4 separate regions of the Homo sapiens genome follow, and regions 1, 2 and 4 are each linked to region 3. The links are contacts of gene promoters, found by promoter capture Hi-C in human tissues and cell types (Jung and others, 2019). All regions are on one chromosome and are shown on one strand. The core of a region is centred on a gene start or on the middle of the fragment in contact, and the rest is flanking DNA. Distances in the headings are between cores, read along the strand shown.

Evidence for each region. The method cuts DNA at HindIII sites, captures the fragments that hold promoters and counts their contacts. A contact is called where the count stands out against the background at its distance.
Region 1: a contact is called between a fragment that was not itself captured here and the fragment with the promoter of GGACT in region 3, in 2 of the 25 tissues and cell types used here (dorsolateral prefrontal cortex and thymus).
Region 2: a fragment that was not itself captured here is called in contact with the fragment with the promoter of GGACT in region 3 in 2 of the 25 tissues and cell types used here (liver and mesendoderm cells).
Region 4: a contact is called between a fragment that was not itself captured here and the fragment with the promoter of GGACT in region 3, in 1 of the 25 tissues and cell types used here (dorsolateral prefrontal cortex).

The regions. Positions count from the first base shown.
Region 1 is chr13:100,733,008-100,736,695 of GRCh38, forward strand. The region is part of intron 1 of NALCN-AS1 (NALCN antisense RNA 1); the gene reads left to right. Among named protein-coding and RNA genes, the nearest start is that of NALCN-AS1, 27 kb to the left of the region's middle. The HindIII fragment of the contact is 5,237 bases long and covers 1-3,688 here.
Region 2 is chr13:100,428,975-100,433,018 of GRCh38, forward strand. The region is part of intron 20 of PCCA (propionyl-CoA carboxylase subunit alpha); the gene reads left to right. Among named protein-coding and RNA genes, the nearest start is that of PCCA-AS1, 50 kb to the right of the region's middle. The HindIII fragment of the contact is 4,793 bases long and covers 1-3,910 here.
Region 3 is chr13:100,587,247-100,590,889 of GRCh38, forward strand. GGACT (gamma-glutamylamine cyclotransferase) reads right to left here and starts at 1,543. Exons shown (of 3, transcript NM_001195087.2): 1 at 1,495-1,543. RefSeq lists a silencer at 1,176-1,695. The HindIII fragment of the contact is 6,002 bases long and covers 1-3,643 here.
Region 4 is chr13:100,809,194-100,813,335 of GRCh38, forward strand. All of the region lies in intron 2 of NALCN-AS1 (NALCN antisense RNA 1), which reads left to right. Among named protein-coding and RNA genes, the nearest start is that of NALCN-AS1, 100 kb to the left of the region's middle. The HindIII fragment of the contact is 3,944 bases long and covers 1-3,654 here.

The sequences.
Region 1 (3,688 bases), core at 415-2,914, 150 kb after region 3:
TGTGTTTACTTAGGATAATGGAGGTTGCTGCAAGAGACATGATTTCATTATTTTTATGGCTGCACGGTATTCCATGGTGTATATGTACCACATTTCCTTTATCCAGTCCACCGTTGATGAGCATCCAGGTTAATTCCATGTTTTTGCTATTGTGAATAGTGCCGCAGTGAACATACGTGCGCATGTGTCTTTTTGGTAAAAAGACTTATTTTTCCTTTGGGCATATACCCAATAGTGGGATTGCTGAGTCTAATGGTAGCTCTGTTTTAAGTTATTTGAGAAATCTCCAAACTGCTTTCTACAGTGGCTGAACTAATTTACATTCCCACCATTGGTGTATAAGCATTCCCTTTTCTCCGCAACCTCGCCAGCATCTGTTAGTTTTTGAATGTCTTTATTTTAAAGCAGGTGTCAGCAAGCCCTTTTAAATGGTCCAAATAGTAAGTATTTTAGACTTGTGGCCATATGGTCTCAGTTGTAATTATTCAGCTCTGCCAAGGTAGTGCAAAAGCAGCCACAAATGATACCTACATAAATAATGGGTGTGACTGTATTCCAAAACAATTTGTAAAAATGGGGCTGGTCCATTGGCTATAGTTTGCCGACTTCAATTTTAAAAGATAGCTTGTCTGGCTAGAACATTTTAGGTTCAAAATTATTTTCCTTTAGATATTGAAGATAATTGCTCCAAGGTCTCCCTGTGCCCATGGTTATTGTCAAGAAGGCTGAGGTCAATCAGATTTTTTTTTTTTTTTTTTTGAGATGGAGTCTCACTCTTGTCACCCAGGCTAGAGTGCAATGGCTCACTGAAACCTCCACCTTCTGAGTTCAAGCGATTCTCATACCTCAGCCTCCCAAGTAGCTGGGATTTCTGGTGCCCACCACCACACCTGGCTAATTTTTGTATTTTTAGTAGAGACGGGTTTTCAGCATGTTGGTCAGGCTGTTCTCGAACTCCTGGTCTCAGGTGATCCACCCATCTCAGCCTCCCAGAGTGCTGGGATTACAGGCATGAGCCACCATGCCTGACCATATTATTTTTCTTTTGTCAATAACCAGTTTATTCTTCCCCAGAAGATTTTAAGGATTTTCTTTTTATTTTAATGTTGAAGTTTCTTCATGGATTTTCAACTGTCAACTCCCAAAATATCTATCAAAATAACCTTTTGATAAAGCAAAGCTAAGTTTATTAAACTTACTGTAAGGGAGACCATCACTTTGAGACCTTAGCAATGGCTCAAAGGGAGAAGTAAGGAGAGGATATTTATAGCATTTTGGTGTCTGAGCTCATGAGATTTGAGGCAGTTCTTTCAAGCTGGGGAATTGACTGGGATGAGCAAAGTTCGTAACTGATAGTTTAGGATTGTGGCCACAGTGAAGCTAGGGGCTCAAAGCAAATATTTATAAGTAAACTGTTTGATAAAAGAGCTCTTTGCCCAGATGAAAACATGGCTGTCCTGTGAGGAAAACTGGCCAGATGCACAAACTATTTGCCCAGACAAACTGGTTTGCAGGAATTTCCTAAAGTAAATAGCAGTTATTTATTGGTTTACAGCTTTATCTTTCTGGGCAAGGATTTCCTGGAGCAAATAATTAAGTTATGTTGAAACAGGTGGTCTTTGTCCTTGGTCCTAATATTTAAGCCATGTGGATGCAAATGTTCTCTCTTCTCAACTGTGTCTGGATAATTTTAAAAATATTTATCCTGCTGGGTATTGATGGCTTCTTTCAGAGACCTCATGTCTTACTTCGATTCTGTACATTTCTAATCAACTATTTCTTAAAATTTTATTTACTTTTAATTTCTCCAGGCTCTTCTTTTGTAACTCCTATTACATGGATGCTGGAACTAGATTTATTCTACAAATCTCTTAATTTTTGTGTCATTTTGAGCAAATTCCATGGTTCCATTTTCCAATCTATTTGCCTCTCAGCTGTGCTTATTTTGTTTTTCACCCACGTACTAGGTTTTTAAGTTTCAACAATTAAAATGTTCATCCAATAGTTTTGATTGGTTCTTTTTTCTTTGAGATGGGGTCTTGCTCTGTTGCCCATACCGGTCTTGAACTCCTGGGTTCAAGCGATCCTCCTGCCTTGACCTACCAAAGTGCTGAGATTACAGGCATGAGCCACCACGCCCAGACTCTTTCTATTCTTGTGATCGCACACATTATGTCCTTAAATATTTAAAGATATTTTATATGTGCATGTACACACACACACACACACACACACTTACACACACACTGCTTCTATTCACCAACCTACTTCTTTAATGAAAGTTTTTCCTTTTTCACTTATTTCTATCTTCTGATGCTGGATCTGCTGGAATATTTGATTCTGCTTATGTAAATCAATGCCAAGTTTCCCTGTTAGAAGATCTGCTATAATAGTTCACGCAGATGATTGAGATGGGGTGGGAACTGCCATTGTTGCTGCTGCTTTACACTGGCTTTAGTGAGCCTGGCAGAGGCTCCTGTGGTGTGTAAGGAGATGACATCTCACAGTGGGTCTTTAAGGCATATCTGGGGCATTGCGCTGCGTCTCTTGCTCCCAGAGTTCCTGTACCTGCTGCTCTGGGGAAGGCAGGCATATCTGGGGCATTGCGCTGCGTCTCTTGCTCCCAGAGTTCCTGTACCTGCTGCTCTGGGGAAGGCATACACTTGCATCCATGGGTGCAGGTGCCCTGCCCGGAGGCTGCCCTACCACGCTGCGCTCACCTTGGCCACTCTGAGTTCCTCCTCCTCTTTCTGGATCCCCCCTTCTTGGTCGGGGGCACCCCTTGAGGCTCACAGCAGAATTCTCCCACTCCCAGCTAGGCTGCAGTTTTTCTTCTTTATGCCTGCCTACTTTCCAATTTTAAGAGATTCTGGGCCGAGCACAGTGGCTCACGCCTGTAATCTCAGCACTTCGGGAGGCCGATGTGGGCAGATCACAGGGTTAGGAGTTTGAGACCAGCCTGGACAACATAGTGAAACCCCGTCTCTACTAAAAGTACAAAATGTAGCAGCCGGGCATGGTAGCATGCGCCTGTTGTCCCAGCTACTCGCGAGATGGAGGCAGGAGAATTGCTTGAACCTGGGAGGCGGAGGTTTCAGTGAGCCGAGAAGGTGCCACTGCACTCTAGCTTGGGCAACAAAGCTAGACTTCATCTCAAAAAGAAAAAAAGAGATTCTGTATCGTTCTGGTTCATCCAGAGTTTGTGTTCTTCTTTCCAATCATGACTATGCCCTTACGTGTTTACTTTTTTATATCTTTTTAATGATTTCTATGAATGTCATGTAGGAGGGATTAGTAATCTGTTTTGGAACATTTTTTTTAAATGTCAAATGAAAATAAACTCCAAGCCACCATCTTACATCATTGGCAAAAAATTCAGTCATTTGGGGGTACCCCATTATATAGAAAGGTCCTGGGGTATCATAAGCAGGAATAGTTATCCTGGAAGCTGACCTCTAGCCTGACCTGGTTACCTGTGAGAAACCCATCACCAAGGCCCATTGCTAGTTTTGCACCTTCTTTGCCATCATGGATCCAGAAATCTCTGCCAAAGCAGTGTCCTGGGCTGGGACTCCGATCGCTGTCTATACAACAAGCAGCCATTTCCCCTAAGGTCTGGCCACCATCCTTGGCCATTTTGAGGGACTTAGTGGGTTAGAAGTTCCTGTGCTTACCCCTGTTCTAGTTT
Region 2 (4,044 bases), core at 264-2,763, 160 kb before region 3:
TTTGGTTTTTGGCTGCTTTGTGGAGAGTGGCTTGAAGAAGCATGAGGTGAAGATTGGAGGCAAAGAGAGAAGTCAGCAGATGTTAGGGATTCGGAGGTAAGAAGTCTCAGCAGCTGTGGGGATGAGGGCACTGTGTGCAGAAGGGATCTGCAAGCGTGACAGGAGAAAGAACTGGTGGCTTTACAGTCATCTGCTGATTTCTCTTCTGACCACTGTTAGCATGGGCAAACCTCCAAATTCTATTCCTGACTCCCCCTTTTCTCTCTCTGCTTGCTTCCTGGGCTGCATTGCTCCAAGAGTTCCAGCTTAACACCTCCAAGCAGATAGCTACGAAATGCAATTATAAGTGTTTGTGTGTCTCTTTGCAATTGTTTATTCTGAGAAATAAGGGATGAATATTACCAAAGGCATTTTTCAAGTGATTTTACAGTAATCACTTGAAATTGATTACTGTAGTAATTGATTACTATAGTAACTGTAGGTACTTTAAAGTAATAACTACAATTCTTTTTTCTCTGGATTTTTGAGCATACATATAAACTTTATATTCTTAAATAGTATTAAATATTACTATTTATCATTAACTTGTATCATTAAATTTTATTATTAAACCTCATTTAATATAAAATAATATGTATTATTATTATTTTGAGACACAGCCTCCCTCTGTTGCCCAGGCTGGAGTGCAGTGGTACGATCTTGGCTCACTGCAACCTCTGTCTTTCGGGTTCAAGCGATTCTCTTGCCTCAGCCTCTGGAGTAGCTGGGATTACAGACACGCACTACCATGCCTCGCTAATTTTTGTATTTTTAGTAGAGATGAGGTTTCGCCATGTTGGCCAGGCTGGTCTCGAACTCCTGACCTCAGGTCATCCACCTGCCTCAGCCTCCTAAAGTGCTGGGATTACAGGTGTGAGCCATCACACCCAGCCAAAAATATTTATTATATCTATATAAAAGCTAAAGAATGACCCAATGAAAACCTGTTTACCCACTATCTAGATTAAAAAAAAGAAAACAGGCTGGTCACTGTGGCTCACGCCTGTAATCCTAGCCTTTGGGAGGCCGAAGCAGGCAGATCACCTGAGGTTCGGAGTTCGAGACCAGCCTGACCAACGTGGAGAAACCCCGTCTCTACTAAAAATACAAAATTAGCCAGGCATGGTGGCGCATGCCTGTAATCCCAGCTACTCAGGAGGCTGAGGCAGGAGAATCCCTTGAACCCGGGTTGTGGTGAGCTGAGATCGCGCCATTGCACTCCAGCCTGGGCAACAAGAGTGAAACTCCGTCTCAAAAACAAACAAACAAACAAAAAACCAAAACATTATCAGTGCTATTTGTATCATTCTTCCTTGATTAAATCCTCCTTTCCAGTGTCCCTGAAGAACACCATTATGAGTTTTAAATTGATCACTACCTTGCTTTTCTTTAGGGATATTTATGAATACACCAACACTGTGAGCAGTATCTTGTTGAGCTGCTCTTGTTTTTGAACCTTGTAATTGCCCCCATCCTCTCTGTGTTCCTCCAGGAGTTGTCTTCTCCCCACCAGCATGATGTTTGTGAGCCTGGCCCATGTTGCTGCCTATAGCTGCAGTTTATCTACTTCCATACATCATATTAATATTACCACCAATTACTTATTCTCCTCTAAATAGACATCTGTGTTATTTTCCTTATTTTGTTGTCACAGTGATGCTTGTATGAACACCCTACTTCCTGTTTCCTCTTGACATAGGAGGTTCTCCAGGTCATGTGCCGGTATAACAGCCATGCTGTGGGGCCTGTGCTTTCTCATTCCTGCATGGCAAGGCCAGGTGGGTTTCTCTGTGTGGCTGTACCAGCTTATGTGCCCATCAGTAGTGAAGATGATAGTCACAATGAGAACAATGAACTAACCTTATTCTGTACTTATTATGCCCGGCACTGACTGTTCTAAGCACTTTGTATGTATGAATGCCCCCAAAAACCCAATAAAGTACGTACTAGTGTTATCCCTCATTTTGTATTTGGGAAAACAGAAGCTTGTAGAGGCTAAATTGCTTTCCCATCTGGTAGTAAATGGGAGTGCCAGAATTTGAACCAAGGAATCTGTGCCCTTAACATTTTTTTTCACATCCTGGTGAACCCTTGGCCTTCCCAGACTACTTAGGTTTTTCCTGACTGGTGGGTTTAGATGGCATCTCATTATGGTTTTAATGTATACTTCCCTGATTAGTATGACAATGAACATTGAAAATATATATTTATTGGCTCTCTTGTTTTCTCTTCTGTAAAATATCTGCTCATGACTTTTGCCCACTTTTTAAATTGGATTATCTTTTTCTTATTGACTCATAAAAGTTCTTCCTGCGTTATGGCTCCTTTTTGTCGTATGTGTTGATAAAGTAGCTTCTGTTTTTATTGTTTTAAGTTATCCAAGTTAAGTTTTAAGGCAAGATTTAATGTCAGAATTTTCAATATTTTCCTTTATGGTTTGTGTGTTTTGCGTTTGTGTAGATAATCTTGTTCTACTCCTAAGCTCACAAAGATACCTATATTTTCTTTTAAACCTTTTTAAATTGTGCTTTTCAAAGTTAACTACTTAATCCTCATGGGATTGATTTTTGTACACGGTATGAGTGGCTCACGCCTGTAATCCCAGCACTTTGAGAGGCCGAGGTGGGTGGATCACGAGGTCAGGAGATCGAGACCATCCTGGCTAACACAGTGAAACCCCATCTCCACTAAAAATACAAAAAATTAGCTGGGTGTGGTGGCGGGCGCCTGTAGTCCCAGCTGCGTGGGAGGCTGAGGCAGGAGAATGGTGTGAACCCAGGAGGCAGAACTTGCAGTGAGCTGAGATCGCGCCACTGCACTCCAGCCTGGGTGACAGAGTGAGACTCCATCTCAAAAAAAATAATAATAATAAATAAAATAAAATACAGATACCAGGCCGGGTGTGGTGGCTTAAGCCTGTAATCCCAGCACTTTGGGAGGCCGAGGCGGGTGGATCACCTGAGGTAAGGCGTTTGATACCAGACCAGTCTGACCTGTAACATGGTGAAACCCTGTCTTTACTGAAAATACAAAATATTAACCGGGGATGGTGGTGCACACCTGCAGTCCCAGCTGCTCAAGAGGCTGGACCCCTGCACTCCAGCCTGGGCAACAAAGCAAGACTCCATCTCAAAAATAAATAAATAAATAAATAAATAAACAAACAAACAGATAACTCGTTATGCCAGCACAATTTAATGATAGTCGTGCTTCTCTTCCCTTACTACCTTGCCACCACCTCACCTTTCCAACCCCGAAATTCTTTAAAAGCGGTTTCTGTGATTCTCAATTAATTGTAAATAAAAAGATGATTTTTCGCTTAATACGATCCTCAGTATATTTGCTTCTGTGAGCTCTCAGTCAGTTGCACTCTTTTATTTTTTGTTAATCTTCTGGAAACCCTTAGCCAAGGGCATCAGATGATATTTGAGATACACCTTAGAAAAACGTGTTTGTGAATCAACAGGCAAATTGGGAAGTATTCATTTAGGGAAGTAATGAGAGCTAAACATGGAAAAATAGGTTGGAGGACCAGATAGTGAATGAGAGCCTGAAGAATCTATGCTTTTCAGTCAGCAGTGGAGATATTACAACTTTTTGCAGAGTACAGTAACGTCCATCAAAATGCCATTGTAGAATATTAATGTGTCCTCATAATAGAGGAGGGGTTAAGGGATTGAAGGGTGAAGTGGAGATGGAGTTCATTTAGAAGACAATCCTATTACTGCCTTCATCCTCCACTAGGGTGCAAGCAGTGTAGAGAAAAAGGGGGTTGAGTTTGAGAGAAACCTATGTTTCCATGCATAGAAACCACTTTCTGTTTCTATGAATTTGACTACTGTGGGTATGGGTACCGCCTATAAATGAAATGGTATAGTATTTGTCTTTTGTGACTGGCTTATTTCACTTAGCATACTGTCTTCAAGGTTCATCCAGGTTATAGCATGTGACAGGATGTCTTTCCTTTTTATGGCTGAATAATATTCCATTGTGTGAATATACTAC
Region 3 (3,643 bases), core at 293-2,792:
AATGAACAGATCATTTTAAAATCCCTCTTCTATTCTGCTTACTGCTACCTACTATCCAGATCACCACAAACAACCACCCTCTCCTAACTAGTAGTAGTTAGGGCCTGGTTAGTAAAATCAACTAGCCCAAAGTATTTCCGTACAAAAATCCACCAATTAGAAATTAATTTAACTTTGCAAACTCAGCTTTTACAATACGAATCTCTGCTAGAACACAGTGGTCTGCTTATTCAGGGAAGTCTGGCTTCTTCTGGGAATAGTTTCAGGAAAACAAGGCATTTTGGGAAAATACGGGCAAACTGCAGGTGCTCTTCATCTGAGCATTTCAATAAATTGAATGAGGCCAGGGAAAAGTCTTCACTTACAGGTAAATGTACATAAGGACACCTACGTGTGTGTAAGACCTACACTTTAAATAGGTCACCTTTAGTTTTTCATTAATCATTTCTCCTGGGACATTTAGCAAAACGAATAACTTGCTTTTAAAAAAGGCCACAAATCCCGGGTGCAGTGGCTCATGCCTGTAATCCCAACATTTTGGGAGGCCAAGGCGGGCGGATCACGGGGTCAGGAGTTCGAGACCAGCCTGGCCAACATGGTGAAACCCTGTCTCTACTAAAAACACAAAAATAAGCTGGGCGTGATAGCAGGCGCCTGTAATCCCAGCTACCCGGGAGACTGAGGCAGGAGAATCGCTTGAACCCGGAAGGCAGAGGTTGCAGTGAGCCGAGATCGCGCCACTGCACTCCAGCCTGGGCAACAGGGCAAGACTTCATCCCAAACAATAAAAAGGGCCAGAAATCGACTGCATTTTCTTATCACTTAAATATTAAATCAACTAAGCGTGGAGTTAAGAAGCTGTGTTCAAAAAACACTTAAGTCTGCTTTTGAGCTTGTGGCGTTGTCCTTGGCCCACAGAGTAAAACAGCAATGATAACCATAATTAATAATCAAGGCAGTAAATTTCTTCAAAATTTCAGAAGTTTCACTAATGGCTCCAAAGAAACCTTAGATCAGAAATTCACAAGTGCCAGGAGACGTTTTTAGATTTCTTTTGCAGCTTCTAGTCTCCTTACAAACAGGAAATCTTTAAAATGAAAAACAATTTCTGAGAAGTGTTAGCCCGGTTCAGCTGAGGTCCTCTGAAAGCCAGCGTGTGGGCTGTCACGCTTCCTTTACAGGGAAGCAGCGCCCGTGCGTGAGGCGGTTCCTGGCTTTTACCGCCCTCTGCCCGTTCTGGCAATCGCGCCCGTGGCCCCCGCGCGGGGCAATGGAGGACGCGTTTCGGGGTCCACCGTCCCCTCCCTCCGGCTGGCCTCGCCGGCCGGCGGCGCCCCAGGCCTCCTCCCTCACCCGCGGGGACGCCGAGTGCTGCGGCCTCGACCCGGACGCCGCGCAGGGAGCGACGCCCCAGGTTCCCGCGGGCGCCAGGACACCCCGCCTGGGGGGCGGAGCAGGCGCAGCCCCGACCCCCGCCCGGGCTCAGCGCCTCACCTGCCGGCAGCCGGGGCTGTCGGGGAGGGCAGGGCCAGGGCGGAAATGCAGGGCCGGGCCCGCGCCTCTGCTCCCAGGCCGCCCCCGGCGGCGCCCCCTGCAGGCGGAACGCGAGGCCCGCCAGCCCCTGCGGCGCCCTCGCACACACGTGGCCGCTCGCACAACTGGCCGCCTAACAGCCAGACCCACCCACGCCGATGCCCGCCGGAGACGCCCCGCCGCAGACACAGCGCAACCAGCTTCACACACCTGGGGACGCCCCACAGAAGTCACATCCACCCTAACACACCTGGGCACTCAGGCTCAAGCCCCGACTGCATGGTGGACCCTGACACACCTGGGCCACACCCCACAAAACAGACTCACAGACGACTCCACAAGCTTGGGGACACGCCACATCAAATGGACACACATGCACACACAAATGAACCCAAGCGCAGACACACTTGGGGATGCCAACCATGTGTGTATCTATCACATCACACACCACCAAGGCCCCCCAGCTGGGCATGCACACAGCCCTGATACCGAGTCCAGACCGCCATCTAGTCACACTGCCCACTTACTTACCAATACTCTTAAAATGAAACTGTGGCCGAAGGAGACAATGGAAGGATGACATCACCTCTTCCCTAGCTCCAGGACTAATTTAAGCCCCAGAAATTATAGGACTGAGAACCAAAATCGAAAGAGAACATTTTCCCTAGAGACAATGGGTTAAAGCAATGCCACTTGGGGGCCAGGTGGTAGGAATGGTACAGCTATGGAGAGAGTGACACTTCTGTCTCTCCGAAAGACACAAATCTGTGTTTATCAGATTAGCAATAATCCCCCTTAATCATTTCCTGCCCTTTCTACTTTCTCATGGATGTGGACTGATTGAAACCTTTATATAAACTGGTTTTTATCCAAACGTTTCCAACAATGCAGATGTAATTGTATTTTGAACAGATGTACAATTCCAAAAGAAATCTAAACCATCAGGTACATAAGTCGTTGGTTTTCACAGTTTTTTCTTGTCTTGGACACTTCATAATTAAATTGAAATGTATTAAAAAACCTTGTCTAGCTCATATTAATATTTTTTTTTTTTTTTTTTTTTTTTTTGAGACGGAGTCTCGCTCTGTCGCCTAGGCTGGAGTGCAGTGGCGGGATCTGGTTCACTGCAAGCTCCGCCTCCCGGGTTCACGCCATTCTCCTGCCTCAGCCTCCCAAGTAGCTGGGACTACAGGCGCCCGCCACTACGCCCGGCTAATTTTTTGTATGTTTAGTAGAGACGGGGTTTCACCATTTTAGCCAGGATGGTCTCGATCTCCTGACCTCGTGATCCGCCTGCCTCGGCCTCCCAAAGTGCTGGGATTACAGGCGTGAGCCACCGCGCCCGGCCTCATATTAATATTTTTAAAGACAGCAGTAATTCTTAACTTTTTGAAGCGAAAGAATGATTCCACTTTCATCTCTTTTTTGAGGGGGGAAAATCATGTCAGCAAAGGAAAGTGAGACAAATAGATAAATAATTCTTCTGATAAAGGAAAATTAAAGATGACGCAGACTAGACGAATTTTTTGTTTGTTTTGAGATGGGTTCTCACTCTGTCACCTAGGTTGGAGTACAGTAGCATGTTATTGGCTCATTGCAACCCCTGTTTCCCAGGCTCGAGTGATCCTCCCACCTCAGCCTTCTGAGTAGCTGGGACCTCAGGCACCCACCATCACGCCCGGCTAGTTTCTTGTATTTTTTGGTAGAGACAGGATTTCACCATGTTGCCCAGGGTGGTCTTGAACTCCTGAGCTCAGGCGATCCACCCGCCTTGGCCTCCCAAAGCGATGGGATTACAGGTATGAGCCACAGTGCCTAGCCAAGACAAGTGTTAAGTTGCATCCCAGATAAGGCTGGGGAAGCCCAATCTAACATAGAATAGGCTCTGTGGGATGAAGCCTTCAGTTTAACTTCTTGGAAAACAACTCACAGTTTGAAGAGCAGTTTTTGAAATGTGGTCCCAGTCCAGCAGCACTGGCAGCACCTGGGTATTTAGAAATGCACAATCTCCAGCCACACTGGAGGTGTCCTGACTCTGGGGGTCAACTCAGTGTCAGCAAGTCTGGGGGTGGGGCCCAGAGATGGACATTCTAATGAGTGATGCCAGTTC
Region 4 (4,142 bases), core at 433-2,932, 220 kb after region 3:
CAGCTGATCTTTTGTGAGGCCAAGAATGGGACCTGGTGTGTCTGTGTCATCTCATCCTAGGTAAAACAAAGGGAACACTCATGAGTCTTCTTTAAGTCCTGTGGGGATAGGGAGTTCTTTGCAGGCAGCTGTTTTCTGGAACACAAGAAAGTAAGGGGATTTCTTAACCGTCCCTGTTTTGCAGGATCAGTGGGCTCAGGTAAAATTCAACGTTGTCAATGGTTATGCTTAGAAGTTGTCAAACTAAATAACAGAGCGTGATTCTCCAAAAGAAAAGATGTTTATTTGGGAAGAGAGCATTGCAACGGGAATATGAATGCCGTAATATACTATGTATGTATTCAGGGAGGTAGAAGAAGAAAAAGGCTTTGAAAGGAAAAAATGAAGAGGATTACATCATTGTTTTGAAATAATTATTCTTGGCTACAAGGATCAACAGGGGTGATGCCAGTGTGGGGTTAGACAGGCAGCTACTGGGCAGATGTCTTTCCAGTAGTATTTTTGTGAGTATGGTTGTGATGGTCTTTGTGCAAGGTTGTGGCTTTTGTAGTCTTTTTTTTAAATTTCAACTTTAAAATTTTAGATTCAGGGGGTAAACACACCGGTGTGTTTCATGGGTATATTGTGTGATGCTGAGGTTTGGAGTGTGACTGATCCTGTCATCCAGGTAGTAAGCATAATACCCAGGTCTTTTTCATTATCAGGACTGCTAGCAGGAGAACCCTTTCTTCATGGCCTTGCCTGGCTCTATTTGTCAGGATTTATTTTAGCATTAGTGGCTCCATTTTGATTCAGACACCTTTCACAAAGTGAACGGGTGTCTTTATACATGGCAGGGTGCCAAGTCATGCTCCAGCTTCCCTGGGAGAAGGTGGGTTCCCATCAGCAGTGGCAGACTGATGACACATAGCACAGAGACACCGAGAGAGAATCTCTTTCCAAAGGAGGAACCAGTTTATTTAGGGAGAAAAATTGCTTTGGAAAGAGAAAAACTCTCTCGCCTGAAACCCAAGAAAGGAACATACCAAAACCTTCTGTTGTTTGCTAAATAAGAGCAAAGTTGTGTATAATAAGGCAATTTTAACAGGGAATTATCAGCAGGACATAAATGGACGGTGGGTGGGGTTTCTAATGGGTATCATGGAAGACAGATTTTCTTTGCATTAAAATTTGGTCTTGTTTTGTATTGTTTAATTATGATCATTTCAGATCCACAGTCACTTGAGTTCTTGTAAATAAATCCAGGCTCTTTTGTGTATACTCTAACAGTGGTGGTTCGTTGCTCTATCCTGCCCTGCCGTGGCTTTGTTATATCACAAAATCCAGCAAGAATTTATCTTGCTGCTAATAAAATCAGAAGATGGCCCAGAAGAAGAAGACAAGGATTTTGTCTTCTTTGAGGTTGCCCCATCTCTAACCAGTGACAGAAATGGCAGACCCAATTTAGGTCACCTTCTACCATGTCTCTTAGGATTTGTGCCTGCAGCATCATAAACAAAAGTGGCACATGGAAATGACAAAGACAGCCTGACACAGTCCTTTTGATATACGTGTATTGTTTGTGCTCTATGTTCATGCAATTACGTAAGATATTTATTTCATAAGGAGGACTTTTGAGACTCTAGTGTAGATGTTGATTACTAAGCCTTGACTATCTGTACTTGAAAATAAACTTAATATAAATTTTAATCTATCTTTTATGTTTACATGCATCATAGAGTGATTTTTACATGCAAGATTTTGGTAAAATTGGATGGGATCTTTATTCTGGAGTCTCTGTGTGGCTATAAAAGACATTTTCTCTTTTCCTTTTTTTTTTTTTTTGCCTGGTATGTTGAATCTTTCATATCCCTTAGCTTCAGTATACATGAATTGATGATTGAATAAATTAAGGATAAGCACACTGTTCTGTTCTTCTAAAACCTTTATTTATTGCTGTGATTTATCTGACAATTTACATAAAGTGCTAGTTAGTACAGCTGAAATTATTAATTCTTCAGAGAATGAGATGTTCAACTGTTTCCACAGCTCCAGGCAAATTTTCCACATTGATATGCAGGAATTACACAGACCACAACTCGTTTTTTGAATTAAAATGCATCATTGATGCTAATTTTAAGGAAGTCTGTATATTGTACTCCTATTTAACCAAACATCACATTTCCTCATTAAAATATCAGCATCCATAATGAAGCACTTTGCATTATAATTTAAAATGTCCCACTATGTTGAATGCACATTTGAACATTTAAATGTAATTCTGCTAATGTACTGATTAATTTATGTTATTCTCTTCCACTCACGTGGCAGATTTTAATTGCAATTAGTTAGCTGCTGTCGGGTCTCGGCATGCTGAAGGCTGGGGGAAGTCCTGATCGGGGTAGAACAATTACCAGGACTTTTGAGCAGGGCTGGTATTAGAGGGAGCGAGCGAGAGCACCCATCAAAGTTGTGAATCTTAATTCTCCTGGTAATAGCTATGCTTGGGGGGCCAGCATTTGCTCTGAGGAAAAAGCCAAATAAATGGGAATTATCCGAGCACTATAATACAATTAAGCTGTCACAACAACTTTGGGGACTGATCTTTTGTACTCTTTCCACGTTCATCCCGGCGGCTTGGGGGCTGATGTAGCCGGGAACGTGCTCTCTCCGGCATCCTGGGCTTTTGATGTGTGTGATGTACAGCTGTAACAAGGCATGGGGTACAACACCCGCCTTTCACTCAATGTTGTTGAGCTACAGATTCATGTAATTAATTTTAAAAAGCCATTACTTTGATCTTCATAAATATGCCCAGGATTCAAATGGAAAACCTCAAGGGGAATTTTCTCAGGAGGATGATATGGCCAAAATGCAATTTCATTAGGGTCTACTACTTGTCCCTAAATGAGGCTGCCCCCACCGGCCCCAGCTTTTATTTCAGTGGCTGCTATTACCAGCTGCACTGCTATATTATGCAGAAAATCTGCTTGCTTACTCTGCAAACAAACTGCCTTGGTTCAATGAGCTATTCGTAATGTTATGCTAAGCTTTGTGATATATTGCTATAATTTGGTGTAAAGCACTTTTAGTTCTTACACTGGTTTTATTATGTTAAGTATAGGGCACTGGTGTTTAGAAATGAGATGAAAACATAATCCTTGAGGTATTCACTATTAGTGAGGCACAGAGGAGGGGGCTCTGGGCCCCTTGAACTTGGGTTCTAGTCCTACTTCTATCACTTCATGGTCTCTGTGAACCGCTGTGCTCTTAGCTCTCAGATGAGGATAGAATGAACAATTCCTAGCTCAGGTTTATTTTGTGGGTCACATTACAAACATGGGGAAAAGAGGTCTGTAAAATTAGAGCAGAATGTGCACCTAAGGCTTGATGTTATAGTAGCACCTTACTTTTGTTTTTTATTGGCATGACTTAAAATTCTGACAAAAATACTGTTGAGAGAGATGGAGCTCCAAACTGCCAGCCTCCTTCTTAAGTAAGTAATTTCTAAAAATCCTGGTAAGTAGTAGAATTGAGCAGTGACAGTATTAACTGTGGTTAAATTGTAGAATTTTTGGAAGAGATTATGAAAGCTGACTCTACCCTCATTCAATAAAATGCATCAACATTGCAGATGATCCCCAAATTTCAGTGGCTTAACACAGCAGAAGTATACTTCTAGCTCATGCTGCATGTTCCAGGGTCCACAGGGACCCAGGTGAATGGAGACCTAATTTTTTTTTTTTAAATTGTAGTAACACATGTGTGTTTCTGAGGCCTCCAAGATGGGGGAAAAAAGGGATTCCAGGGGGCTGGGAGATGTCCCCAAACACCAGTGGGGCCTCAACCCCAGTCGGTGTCCAGGCTCTTGACAGCATCTTGAGAAGGAATTCAAGGATGAATTGTAAAGTAGTGAAAGTATGGAGATTTATTGCAATGTGAAAGGTATACACTCAAGAAAGGGGAGTGCAGGAGTATTCAAGAGAAAGCCATGCTCAAGGGGGTTTGGGGCTGCTGCCTTTATGTGTTTGTTTAAACAAAGGAATATTCAGGACAATTCCTGGAAAAAGGTGGAGACTTCTTGGAACTGTGGTGCCACCCATTTTTACACCAAATACTGGTTTTCCCGGAATGGTCACAGCACTGGCTGTGTTTAATATATT